Linked DNA regions of Homo sapiens: all the other regions are linked to region 1. Evidence: promoter capture Hi-C in 16 types of primary human blood cells and fetal thymus (Javierre and others, 2016). All regions are on one chromosome and are shown on one strand. Each heading gives the region's core, a stretch centred on a gene start or on the middle of the fragment in contact. The rest is flanking DNA. Distances are from core to core; before and after follow the strand shown. Region 1 holds the start of TARS1-DT (TARS1 divergent transcript). Region 2 holds the start of NPR3 (natriuretic peptide receptor 3). Region 3 overlaps SLC45A2 (solute carrier family 45 member 2). Region 4 overlaps SLC45A2 (solute carrier family 45 member 2).

Region 1 (2,700 bases), core at 153-2,652:
ACCAGCAGACACTATTGTAAGCGCCAAGGGGACCTTTCTCCTTGGCCCTCTGAGGTTTGGCTGAAAATCACTAACATGAGGAACATTAATAGAAAAAACATACAAATTTACTTAACGTGTATACACAGGAAGAATCACAGCGTGATTACCCACCCCTCAGAGGGCTTCAGAAGCTTGTGGATACAATCCCAGCGACACAGGTTATGATAGGGAGAAGAGGAATTCTGTTGAGGGATTACAAAGGAGAATGAATGTATCAGGAACACATTAATTTGTACAACATCTTGTGAAAGGGTCTGCTCAGGTGTGATTACTACATTCTTGGTCTTACAGGGAGGCAACAAAAACAATTATGTTCCTTGTGATGTGTCTAAACTTTATCCTTTGCTTTGGCAGAGATGGCGTGGGGATTTAGGGGAGTGGGACCTTGAGGCTTCTTCAGTTCAGATGTCAAAACGCCATTATTTGGGGGTATGTTTCTGCGCCTCCAACACTGTTTAACAGGGAGGCTTGTTTCATCCAGTAAGGGAGTCAAGAAATGGTTCCCCGAAGAAAACGATTCTTGAAATCTGACAATAAATGAGGTGTCAAACAGGCAAAAAGTGTGTCGGAATGAGCACGGATGAGGGTAGGGTGGAAAAATCTTGGTACTTAGTCTGTGGGAAGACCTGAGGAAAAAAAGCCACTACAGTTTATAGTTCAGTGTATGGTGGGCGAACGAGATGAAGCCGAAAACTTGGACAATCAGGGATTGTCCAAGAGCAAGGGAAAGCCACCAAAGATTTTTCAGCAGATTGCCGTGATCATATTTGTATTTGAAGACTACAACGATGCTGTATGAAAAATGGATGCACAAAGCCGAATTGGGAAGCTATTGTTCCTGGAAAGTATAACCCTGAAGGCGGAGAGTTGTAGAGAACAGAACTGATGTTTAAAAAGAAAAATCCACAAAACGTGGTGGTGGAGCACGTACCTGAAGTTATGCCTATTGCGCTTCTGATTTCAAATAAGTAATTGTTTTAAATTGCCTACTAACATAAAAAAGCCCAGTCGATTCCAAACACTGGCACCCAGGCGTGAGAATCCATGGTTATTTCCTTGGGTGAGCTTTATTGTATTTTTGCGGGCGCTATGGAAATGCTCCTCCAGGCAGTACAGATCAGCAGCGGCTCGTAGTGAAGAACGTTCAAGGAAGAGTTTGTCCCGGATCAACAGGACATGGGGCTTGGGAAGCCTGGACTGCCATGAGGAAGGTCGATTCACCACTACAGACAGGGAGCCTGAGGCCTGGGTGGTGCCGACAAGTCGGCAGTCACGCCAGGTCAGGAAGCGCCGAAGCCGCGGGAAACCCTGGACTCCATCCCGGGATTTGTCCCCGTGTCGAAGATGGTATCCAGGTCGCCGAAAACTTCCCGGAAGTTTAGACCAAGACCTACTTATTATCTACGGTGTCCGGGAAGGTCCATGATTGTTCCACATAAAGTCAGAAGGGAGGAAAGGCGCACGCGCATTGGGGACTTGACTCTGGAAAGCGTCCAGACCAAGGTCAGCGGAGAGTAGGCATGTAGCTTCTGCAGTTGCTCCTCCTCACCCTCCGCGACCTGATTTCCTAGAAGGGCTCTGTCACCCGAAAAGATTTTCCACTGGCTTAGAGGAGGGAGGGCCCGCCTTCCCCCGTTATCCATTGGCTGCTCGTTCCGCCGCAAGTTGGGGGCGGGGTTAGGGCGCCTTTCGATTGCATCAGCTGGTCCAGCCGAGGCCAAGTCCCGGGCGCTAGCCCACCTCCCACCCGCCTCTTGGCTCCTCTCCTCTAGGCCGTCGCTTTCGGGTTCTCTCATCGCTTCGTCGTTCGCCAATGTTTGAGGAGAAGGCCAGCAGTCCTTCAGGGAAGATGGGAGGCGAGGAGAAGCCGGTGAGCAAACTTGGTGGGACCCAGAGACCAGCCTGGGACTCTAGTGGGTGCAGACGCTACGCTCGCGGCGGGAGCGGGGGGCAGGAAGCAGGAAGCGGCCGGGACCGCGTGGGTCGGAGAAGTGGGGGATGGTGGGACTCCTGGAAAGTCGGAACCCCCTTTGGGAACCATCCATTCATAAATTAGGGTGGGGCCTTGCAGTTCATCTGTGGGTCCATTCTCTTTACAGATGAGGAAACAGACCTTGAGTGAGCGACTTGTTCAGAGCCTCACATCTACAGTAGTTAGACGCGGAGACAGAATCAGAATCTTAGGCTTGAGGCTTCCAAACTTGCGTTTATGGCTTACTGTAAGCGGGAAACACATTGCAGAGCCTTATTTAATCAATCTCCTAAGATCCTGCGGGGGTAAAGAGCTCCATTTTAAGGAAAGGAAAACCGAGTGCCCGAGATCTGACCCAGCTTGTCCAAGTTTGGGTGGTTAAGTATACATTTTGCCCGGCACTGATCTGGGCGGTGCATGTGGGAAGATGAATAGGGCCCAGTTCCCCGACTTTGAGGGCCTCACAGGCTGATGTGTAAGAGACAGGAAAACAGCCCTAGTGCTTTGTGATCAACCTTGTGGTATTACAGAAGAGGAAGTTTAGGAAGGCACTTTAGAATTTAGTTTGGAAGAATGATTTCACCAGGTAAACAGGCAGGACGGGGCTTCCCACGTAAAGGTAGGGAAGGCAGTGAAAAGGGGCACGCAGGTGAATTGTCTTTCGGGTTGTTTGCAAGAGATATGCC
Region 2 (2,893 bases), core at 1-2,500, 730 kb before region 1:
GGGGAGGGGGCTGGCGCGGGGCTGAGGAAGGCGGGGTGTAGGTGACGCCCGGGCCAGCCGGGCACACCAGGTCCGCGATGGAGCCATCTGCACTGGGACCTTGGTCCTTGTTCCCTGACCTTGCGCCGAGGGACCAGGAAGGTCAGGTGCTCGCCCCGCGTCGGTGCTTCAGGAGGGAATGTGGCCAGAACGAGAAAGGTGAGAGCAAGCGGCACCTAAGGATTTTTGCACCGAAACCACAATTTCTAGAACCATCCCTTTCCCCCAGTCCTGGTTTTTTTTTTTTTTTGCACGGTGTGTGTGTGTATATGTGTGTGTGTGTGTGTGTGTGTATGTGTGCGTGCGCGCGCGCATTTCTCTACTTTAAAGCACGTTTCCTTTTTTGAAGCCAGGAGCTGGAGAGCGTGGAAAGGGAGAGGCGGTGATCGCACAGGCACGCGGCGTGGTGGGGGCTCTTGCCGGTGCAGACGTGGGCGATTTCAGCTTTAAGGAAAAGGCAGAGGGCCTGCGGGGAGTGGTGGTTAGGGACAGGGGCGCGATGGGTAGTGAAGGGGTGCAGGGAGGAGCCCTGATGTAAGAATGTTAATGAGAGACTCCCCCAGCCCAGCCCCCACATCTCCCCACCCCCACCCACCCCACCCGCTGGAAACACAAGCCCGGCCTCGGCGCGCCATGTGTGGTAACACGCTCAGCCGCTGCCACGCTATTTAAACGCGGGCTATGGATCCAGGAACCGGCGCGAATCAATGAGATCAAATGCGAGGGAGATGCACCGTCAATTACAAACACTTGGACAAGTCTAACTTTTTTTTTCTTCTACAAAAACGCTTTCAAAAGCAACCTTAGCAACGCCCAAATAAGAAGCCACCTCTAAGCAAAATAGTATATGTATAAACGGAGGGCGAATATATACAAGTATATATATATGTATATTACAGACGCACAGGTTTACACCCGGTGAACTTTTTCTTTTTCTTTTTCTTTTTTTTTTAAGAAAAACTAGTGACATTGCAGAGAAGGACGCTTCCTCTCTATCTTTTGGCGCATTAGTGAAGGGGGTATTCTATTTTGTTAAAGCGCCCAAGGGGGCGCAGGGACCTTGGAGAGAAGAGTGGGGAGGAAAGAGGAAGGGTGGGTGGGGGGCAGAGGGCGAGTCGGCGGCGGCGAGGGCAAGCTCTTTCTTGCGGCACGATGCCGTCTCTGCTGGTGCTCACTTTCTCCCCGTGCGTACTACTCGGCTGGGCGTTGCTGGCCGGCGGCACCGGTGGCGGTGGCGTTGGCGGCGGCGGCGGTGGCGCGGGCATAGGCGGCGGACGCCAGGAGAGAGAGGCGCTGCCGCCACAGAAGATCGAGGTGCTGGTGTTACTGCCCCAGGATGACTCGTACTTGTTTTCACTCACCCGGGTGCGGCCGGCCATCGAGTATGCTCTGCGCAGCGTGGAGGGCAACGGGACTGGGAGGCGGCTTCTGCCGCCGGGCACTCGCTTCCAGGTGGCTTACGAGGATTCAGACTGTGGGAACCGTGCGCTCTTCAGCTTGGTGGACCGCGTGGCGGCGGCGCGGGGCGCCAAGCCAGACCTTATCCTGGGGCCAGTGTGCGAGTATGCAGCAGCGCCAGTGGCCCGGCTTGCATCGCACTGGGACCTGCCCATGCTGTCGGCTGGGGCGCTGGCCGCTGGCTTCCAGCACAAGGACTCTGAGTACTCGCACCTCACGCGCGTGGCGCCCGCCTACGCCAAGATGGGCGAGATGATGCTCGCCCTGTTCCGCCACCACCACTGGAGCCGCGCTGCACTGGTCTACAGCGACGACAAGCTGGAGCGGAACTGCTACTTCACCCTCGAGGGGGTCCACGAGGTCTTCCAGGAGGAGGGTTTGCACACGTCCATCTACAGTTTCGACGAGACCAAAGACTTGGATCTGGAAGACATCGTGCGCAATATCCAGGCCAGTGAGAGAGGTGAGCAGGGGCGCGTCCCGGGCCCCGGGCCCTAACCCAACCGCTCTCCGCGGCTCTCCCTGCACACTCGTCCACTCTGCAGACCCCACTCCCCACTGCGGCGCTGAGGTCGGGTGCGCGCGGGCACTCGTTCAGGTATGCGCCGTGTGGCTGCGACAACCTTTGACGACCGCCCATCGCGGTGTACGTAGAGGGTCCCAGGGAGGTGAAGGGGTTGGAGGAGAGGGCGTCTGTAGCTCCTGCGTGCCCAGGTCCAACAGGTGCTGTCAAACACTTCGATGTTTTTTCTTCCCAGTTTCCACTTTGCCAGCGCCGGGCTGGTGATTAGGGGGCGCACTCCCAGTGCCTGGCTCCATCCAGGGTCTGAAGCATCCGAGGCGGAAAGAACTTGTTCCCCAGTCCTTTGCCAGCGTGCGCCCCCACTTAGTGCGGAAGCGTCCGCGGACGCCTCGCAGCGAGGCGTCGCCACTTAGCTCGCCCGCTCTTGGGGTTTCTCTGACTGTTGTTTCCACAGACCCCAGGTTTCTTTTAAAGGCTTGTTGACTCACTCTTCTCATTCCTTTCATTTCCCTTCCAGCCCCTTATAAACGAGCTTCTGTGGTTTCCACCAAAAATGCCCCTGTGTGTCTGAATTCTGGCGACACTCACTTCTCCCAGAGTGTTCTGCAACGCAGTTTCTAATGCGCCCAGAGCTAAGCTTTGCGGGAGTGCCTTTTGAAGAAACGAGCGCTGAACCTTCTTTCCACCTGTCCCCCAAGTTTTCTCCATGGGTCTTTGGGTGTTGGAATAAAACCCAAACTGGACAAAGAGCTCGAGGCTGAGGATGGTGGCTATGGCTTCGGGGAGCGGGGGGACGCGGACGTGTAATCGCCAGTGTGGCCCATTTTACGGTAGGGTAGAATCTGAGGGAAGGCGGACTGAGATGCCGGTATA
Region 3 (2,735 bases), core at 83-2,582, 520 kb after region 1:
ACTTACTATGAGAGTGTTTTGAGAAAGTTAGCCAAAGCTTTAGCAGAAAAACACACAAAAGCTTCACCAGGAAGTCTTTGTCCACCATAACAATGCTTCTGCTCATTCCTATCATCAAACAAGGGCAATGTTGTGATAATTTTGATGGAATATCTTTAGGCATCAATCCCAGAGTCCTGATTTAGCTCCTTCTGACTTCTGTTTCCTAATCTTAAAAAATCTATAAAGGGCACCCATGGTTTTTCAGTTAATATTGTAAAAAAGGCTGCATTGACATAGCTAAATCTCCAGGACCCCCAGTTCTTTAGGGATGGGCTAAACGGCTGGTATCATTGCTTACAAAAGTAAGCAATGAACTCAATGGAGCTTACATTAAGAAATAAAGTTTATTCTTTTTAATTTTTATCTTTTAATTCTATTTTTCCATTAACTTTAGGAAGGCCCATCCCACACACATATATGTAAAAAATGAATATATAGGCCCCGATTCCTTAATTTAGATTTAAATTAGGTTAAAACTAGAAGCTATAGTTTTTCTGGTTTCAGAAACATTGAGAGAATGAGAAACTTTAAACTATTGATACAACTGTTTTGAAATACAAAAAATGATAATAGCTTTTAGCATCTTGTCATATAAGAGAAGAAAGAAACCTTGGGAATATTAATTGATTAGCTTCCCTGAAGACACTGAGACCATAAACATCAGACACAATTTGGTAATTGGTCTTTCTTGTCATATTTTTATTTATTCTGAATCACGACATTGAGTACTGGCTAGTTTATAAGACAGTCTACTGAGATTTTCTATTTTAACTGTAACAGCATATTTTTTATACTTCTTAACCTTATATAATCATGCTTTTTTCTTCTTTGCTGTGGAAAATTATATTCGCCCATTTTAATTTTGTTGTGTAAGTTGATTTTTTAAAATTCATCAGTCTTGCAGTATCTAGCCCACTGACCATAACTATACTCATTTTCTGATAATCAGTGTTAAACACTATAGACATCTCCCTGGATTGAAGGAAAATAACTGTTTTTCTGCAAGTTCAATATGGTACCTGTAAAAATAAATGATTATAACCAAAATGAAGTGCAGAATTACTACTTTTTCCTCAACCACAGAAAGAAGCAGCTAACAATAGCCCAAGAAACAACAGCCTGGTTTTCATGCCTCCAACTAAATGGTTTGTCATCACTTTCCTTCCTCTCCTTCCAAAAATGCAAAACTGAGAAAGCGAATCTGGTCAGCAAGTACTCAGCCTCATTCTAAATATTAATATATGCTTCTGACTTATACATAATTTTCAGCCTGCTTTCATTGTTAGCCTAATTTCTCCTTTCTTCTAAAAATAAATATGAGCTTTCAAAATGTGCATAGTATTTCTGTAAAAGCTGAGAGTGTAAATATTCAAAGCCCCTTTGTATATTTTAACTCAGAATAAAAACCCAGCTGGGATATTATTCCTGACTCATCAATTCCCTTGGTAAAAACCTTTCAATGATTCTGAAACCTTGGGAGTTGTTTTACTGCATTTATTTTGCACCACTGTCAGCTGGAGACTGGGTAGTGATGAATTTACAAGCGAAAAAGGTACAGAGTCATCAGGGAGAAAGAAAACTTCACAAACATACCCTCAAAAGGAGACTATTTAAATGTTAAAGGGAGCAACTGACGACATGGAGGAATTGGAGATAGATTTTATGAGATCTGGTTTAAACTTCTGAAATAATTCAGCCCTCTTGCCATTAAAAAAGAAAAATTTGTTCTTAAATTACACAGCCACCCTTATTTTGGAAAGCAATGTCTTTGGCAAGCAATGACAGCCCTGAAGCCTTGGCCCTGACCCTGGGGAAGTGCAGACTTCCTTTGCTTAACTGGAGACCTCCCAGGGCACACATTTGGAAGAGAAGTGCAAATCCATGGCTTTGAGAGTAAGATGCATTACTCTGTGCTATATTCTTACTTTAACTTTTTGTCTTATTTTATTTGCTTATTTATTTATGTTTTTAGAGGTGGGGTCTCTCTCTGTTGCTTTGACAAGTGTGCAGCGGCATGATCACAGCTCACTGCAGCATCAAACACTTGGGTTCAATGGATCCTCCCACCTTGGCCTCATGAGTTGCTGGGATTACAGGAATGAGCCACTGCACTGGTCTCAATTTGTTTTTTAAACCAAATAACAAGATCATTCAGAGTCTACAACATTTTTCATGTGGCCCCTACTAGAAAGTTCGTTGTATCTGTTGTATTTATTTTTGTACTCGTGTGGGAGTTCCATGACTTTCAAAAGGCTTCCACTCAGTTGATTTCATGTGATCCTCACAGCAGCCTCTGAGTGGATGGGACGACCCCTGTCCTATGCGACTCTTGGAGGGGGAGTCCCAGTCTATCGAAGGGGACATCAAAGAGGTAGATAATCTATCAGGGTGTTATCTATTATCACGTATATACTTTTATTTAGTAAAACCGCACCTTGTTTTGTTCCCCAAATCACCACATTATTTTTTAATTTTCACTTTCACATTATTTGATTACTTTTTCCCTTTTTTTATCTATTATAGAAATTTTGGATGTATTGCAGGATTTAAAAATAGAAAATTAAAGCTTCCTGTGAGCCTATCATCCAGACTTTTCATTTTTTGTATATTTCCTTTCCATTTTTTCCTCTATGTTATGCAGCTTTGTTTTCTCCCAAAAAAAGATGGTTTTGTGCATGTAATGTATATTTTAC
Region 4 (2,700 bases), core at 192-2,691, 540 kb after region 1:
CCCTGACCCTCCTCTCCCCTCCTCTTGTCTTGAAACAAACAAGAGCTATGGACCCGTAGCAATTGTCTTGCATCCAGGAGGCAATACATCCTTAAAGCTGCCAAGGAAACATTAAATTGTTGGCTCTGACATCTAGCAGCTCACTGAAAGCCAGCAGACACGTACTCCCAGACTTTTTGTTACATAAGAAAAATAAACATCTGCCTTGAAGCCACTGTTTTGTGGGCGTTAGTGACTTGCAAACAACCCCTTCCTAATCACTCTATTCCCTAAGCATATACCAAGTGCTGATAGGGAAGGGGCCGAGAACACGGGGAAGGGCTGAAGGAAATCAACCTGGATTTTTGGGTGGCAGTACCAGTCCCCCAAAAAGATCATTAAAGTGCATATAACATTGTCTCTCATTCACACATCCCTTATCCTCTCACTCATTCACACGTATGTTACCTCTGGACAGCCCCCTTCCCTCAAGAAGTTTATGGTGTAATGAGTATGATTAGAAATGTATTCAAATAACTAACATGGAAGGTGGAAAATGGCAAAGGCCAAGAAAGAGACATAAGAAAGTAGCCCTTTAGGGCTGGACTGTTTATCTAAGCTGGGAGGTGGTAAAATGTTTTCCTCAGGGTGTGAGCCAACTTTCCCTTTGCCACCAACTGCCCCTCCCTCCAAGGATGGGGTGGAGGTTGGAGGGGTGAGGGGGGTGGGGGAGATTTTTTTCCCCTCCCTGCAGGACAGGGGTGGAGGGATTTTAGAAGATCTTAAAGGGAGCATTCTGCATGAGAACCTGAGAACAGCTAGATTGGAACACAATACTCCAGTTCCATAACTGCTCTTATGAACACAAAAAGACCTTTTGTGTTTTTCTTGTTTATTTGAAAATTCTAGAATATCTTCATTATGCAAAGAAGGAAAACAAAAGGGATTGGGGAGGAGGGAAGAGAGAGAAAAGCATGTGTGCTCCATCCACATCCCATCCAAGCTTCAGGAGCTGGACTCAGCGGCAACAAGGGTAAAAGTGAAAGGGCTCAATTATGGGCTCAATTGTGTCCCTGTACTCCCGATTCCTGTGTTGATACTCTAACCCTCAATGGGACTGTATTTGTCGACAAGGCCTTTAAAGAGGTAATTAAGGTTAAATGAGACTGTAAGTGTGGAGCCCTAATTCAAATCCAATAGGACTGGTGTTCATGTAAGAAAAGGAAGAGACAGTGAGGGTGCAGGTGCACAGAAGAAAGGCCACATGAGGACACAGCAAGAAGGCGGCTGTCTGCCAGCCAGGAAGAGAGGCCTCACCAGAAACCAACCCTGACAGCTTCTTGATCTTGGATTTCCATACTCCAGAACTGTGGGAAAATGAATTTCTGTTTACCTAGTCAGTGACATTCTGGCATGGCAGCCCAAACAGACCATAAAGGCCCCAGGAGGAGATGAAAATTCAGGATGTATGTGTGATCAACTGCAGCCTCAATGGTCTCTTCCTGATGGAGTTATCTACCTCACTGGCACCTTCATGTTCATCTACTCAATAAACTTTTGTGCTTTGATTATTTTGTGGATCTAGTCCCCGACCAAGTTAGAAATTAAGTATACCTGCAGTTTCGAAGAGAATGAGGGCCCTTGTTCCTAGAAAATGAGTGAGCATTTCCAAGCAGCTTTGATCTCCACAGGCAGAAAAGGAGAAAGAAACTTTCGATGTGAGCAAAGACCCAGAACCTGAAGAAGGAAGGGCTGGCTCCTTCATTTGTCCCATTGGTATTTATTTTGAACACCTACAATATGCAAGGCAGTGGTAGAGGAGTGAGGGATGCAGGGAATAAAACAGACCTGCCCGCTGCTCCTGGAAACATGATGAAAAATTATTCAGAGCACAGAGAATGTGGAAGGAGTAATGGGAAGTAAAGCTTGGAGAGTAGGATGGGAACAGATTGTGGCAGCTTTGAACCTCTGTCTAGGAAAATATTATTTACCCATGAGGCACATAGGGAGCCACTGAAGCTCATCAAGCAGGAAAGTGTCCTGATCACGGCTGGCTTTTAAAAATATGAATCTGGAAGCTATCAGTTGGCTCAATTGGAGTGGGAAGAAACTGGAGACTGGAGAACAGTTAAAGGATGAGTACTGCAAACCAATAATAAAATTCTAAGGCCTCCAACTGACTGAGTGGACACCCTTCTTGGCCAAGAGGATCCCAAAGAAACCTGAAAACCTAGTTCAGGCCATGATGAGAAGGGAGGTGTTGGACATACCCTGTTATAACCCTTCCCTTTGGAGTTTAGACAGAATTAACCAGCATTAACATTAAAATAGAGATCTTAAGACTGCCATACAAAACACTCTTCATAGCAATAGGATGCCAAATTCCAACCTGACTCTGGTATACCATCACATGACAGATAACAGACCCTGAAGAAAATTAATGCATTTTACCCAAAATATATTTCTTTGATATATCTTGGAATGGCCCTGCAAAGCCATCTTTTGTGGGGGATTTTTTTTCCTGTAGAGAACCTCCTTCCCTTACCAGTTTTTTTTTAGAGAGCCTGACACCTTCTAAGACTCAAAAAGAGACATTTACCATCTATTCTCTCTGAAACTTGCTATCTGGAGGCCTCATCTACATAACAAGAACCTTGGCTTCCACAATCCTCCTTAACTCAAGCATTTCTTTCTGTTGACTTCAACTCTTTAGGCAAAGCT

The links. The method cuts DNA at HindIII sites, captures the fragments that hold promoters and counts their contacts. A CHiCAGO score of 5 or more calls a contact.
Region 2: a fragment that was not itself captured here is called in contact with the fragment with the promoter of TARS1-DT in region 1 in 1 of 17 cell types (megakaryocytes); the score reaches 5.7 in megakaryocytes.
Region 3: a fragment that was not itself captured here is called in contact with the fragment with the promoter of TARS1-DT in region 1 in 3 of 17 cell types (naive CD4 T cells, total CD4 T cells and endothelial precursors); the score reaches 6.5 in naive CD4 T cells.
Region 4: a contact is called between a fragment that was not itself captured here and the fragment with the promoter of TARS1-DT in region 1, in 3 of 17 cell types (fetal thymus, activated CD4 T cells and naive CD4 T cells). The highest score is 6.8, in fetal thymus.

The regions. Positions count from the first base shown.
Region 1 is chr5:33,439,232-33,441,931 of GRCh38, forward strand. TARS1-DT (TARS1 divergent transcript) reads right to left here and starts at 1,403. Exons shown (of 3, transcript XR_001742630.2): 1 at 974-1,403. TARS1 (threonyl-tRNA synthetase 1) reads left to right here and starts at 1,734. Exons shown (of 19, transcript NM_152295.5): 1 at 1,734-1,912. The coding sequence starts at 1,856. RefSeq lists enhancers at 1,080-1,667, 1,322-1,631, 1,732-1,921, 2,182-2,241, 2,256-2,700. The HindIII fragment of the contact is 5,282 bases long and covers 172-2,700 here.
Region 2 is chr5:32,710,586-32,713,478 of GRCh38, forward strand. It overlaps NPR3 (natriuretic peptide receptor 3), which reads left to right and starts at 736. Exons shown (of 8, transcript NM_001204375.2): 1 at 736-1,960. The coding sequence starts at 1,192. RefSeq lists an enhancer at 1,097-1,822 and a silencer at 1,698-1,992. The HindIII fragment of the contact is 2,810 bases long and covers 1-2,655 here.
Region 3 is chr5:33,956,522-33,959,256 of GRCh38, forward strand. The region is part of intron 3 of SLC45A2 (solute carrier family 45 member 2); the gene reads right to left. Among named protein-coding and RNA genes, the nearest start is that of RXFP3, 22 kb to the left of the region's middle. The HindIII fragment of the contact is 2,547 bases long and covers 60-2,606 here.
Region 4 is chr5:33,975,898-33,978,597 of GRCh38, forward strand. All of the region lies in intron 2 of SLC45A2 (solute carrier family 45 member 2), which reads right to left. Among named protein-coding and RNA genes, the nearest start is that of SLC45A2, 7.4 kb to the right of the region's middle. RefSeq lists an enhancer at 2,099-2,700. The HindIII fragment of the contact is 922 bases long and covers 981-1,902 here.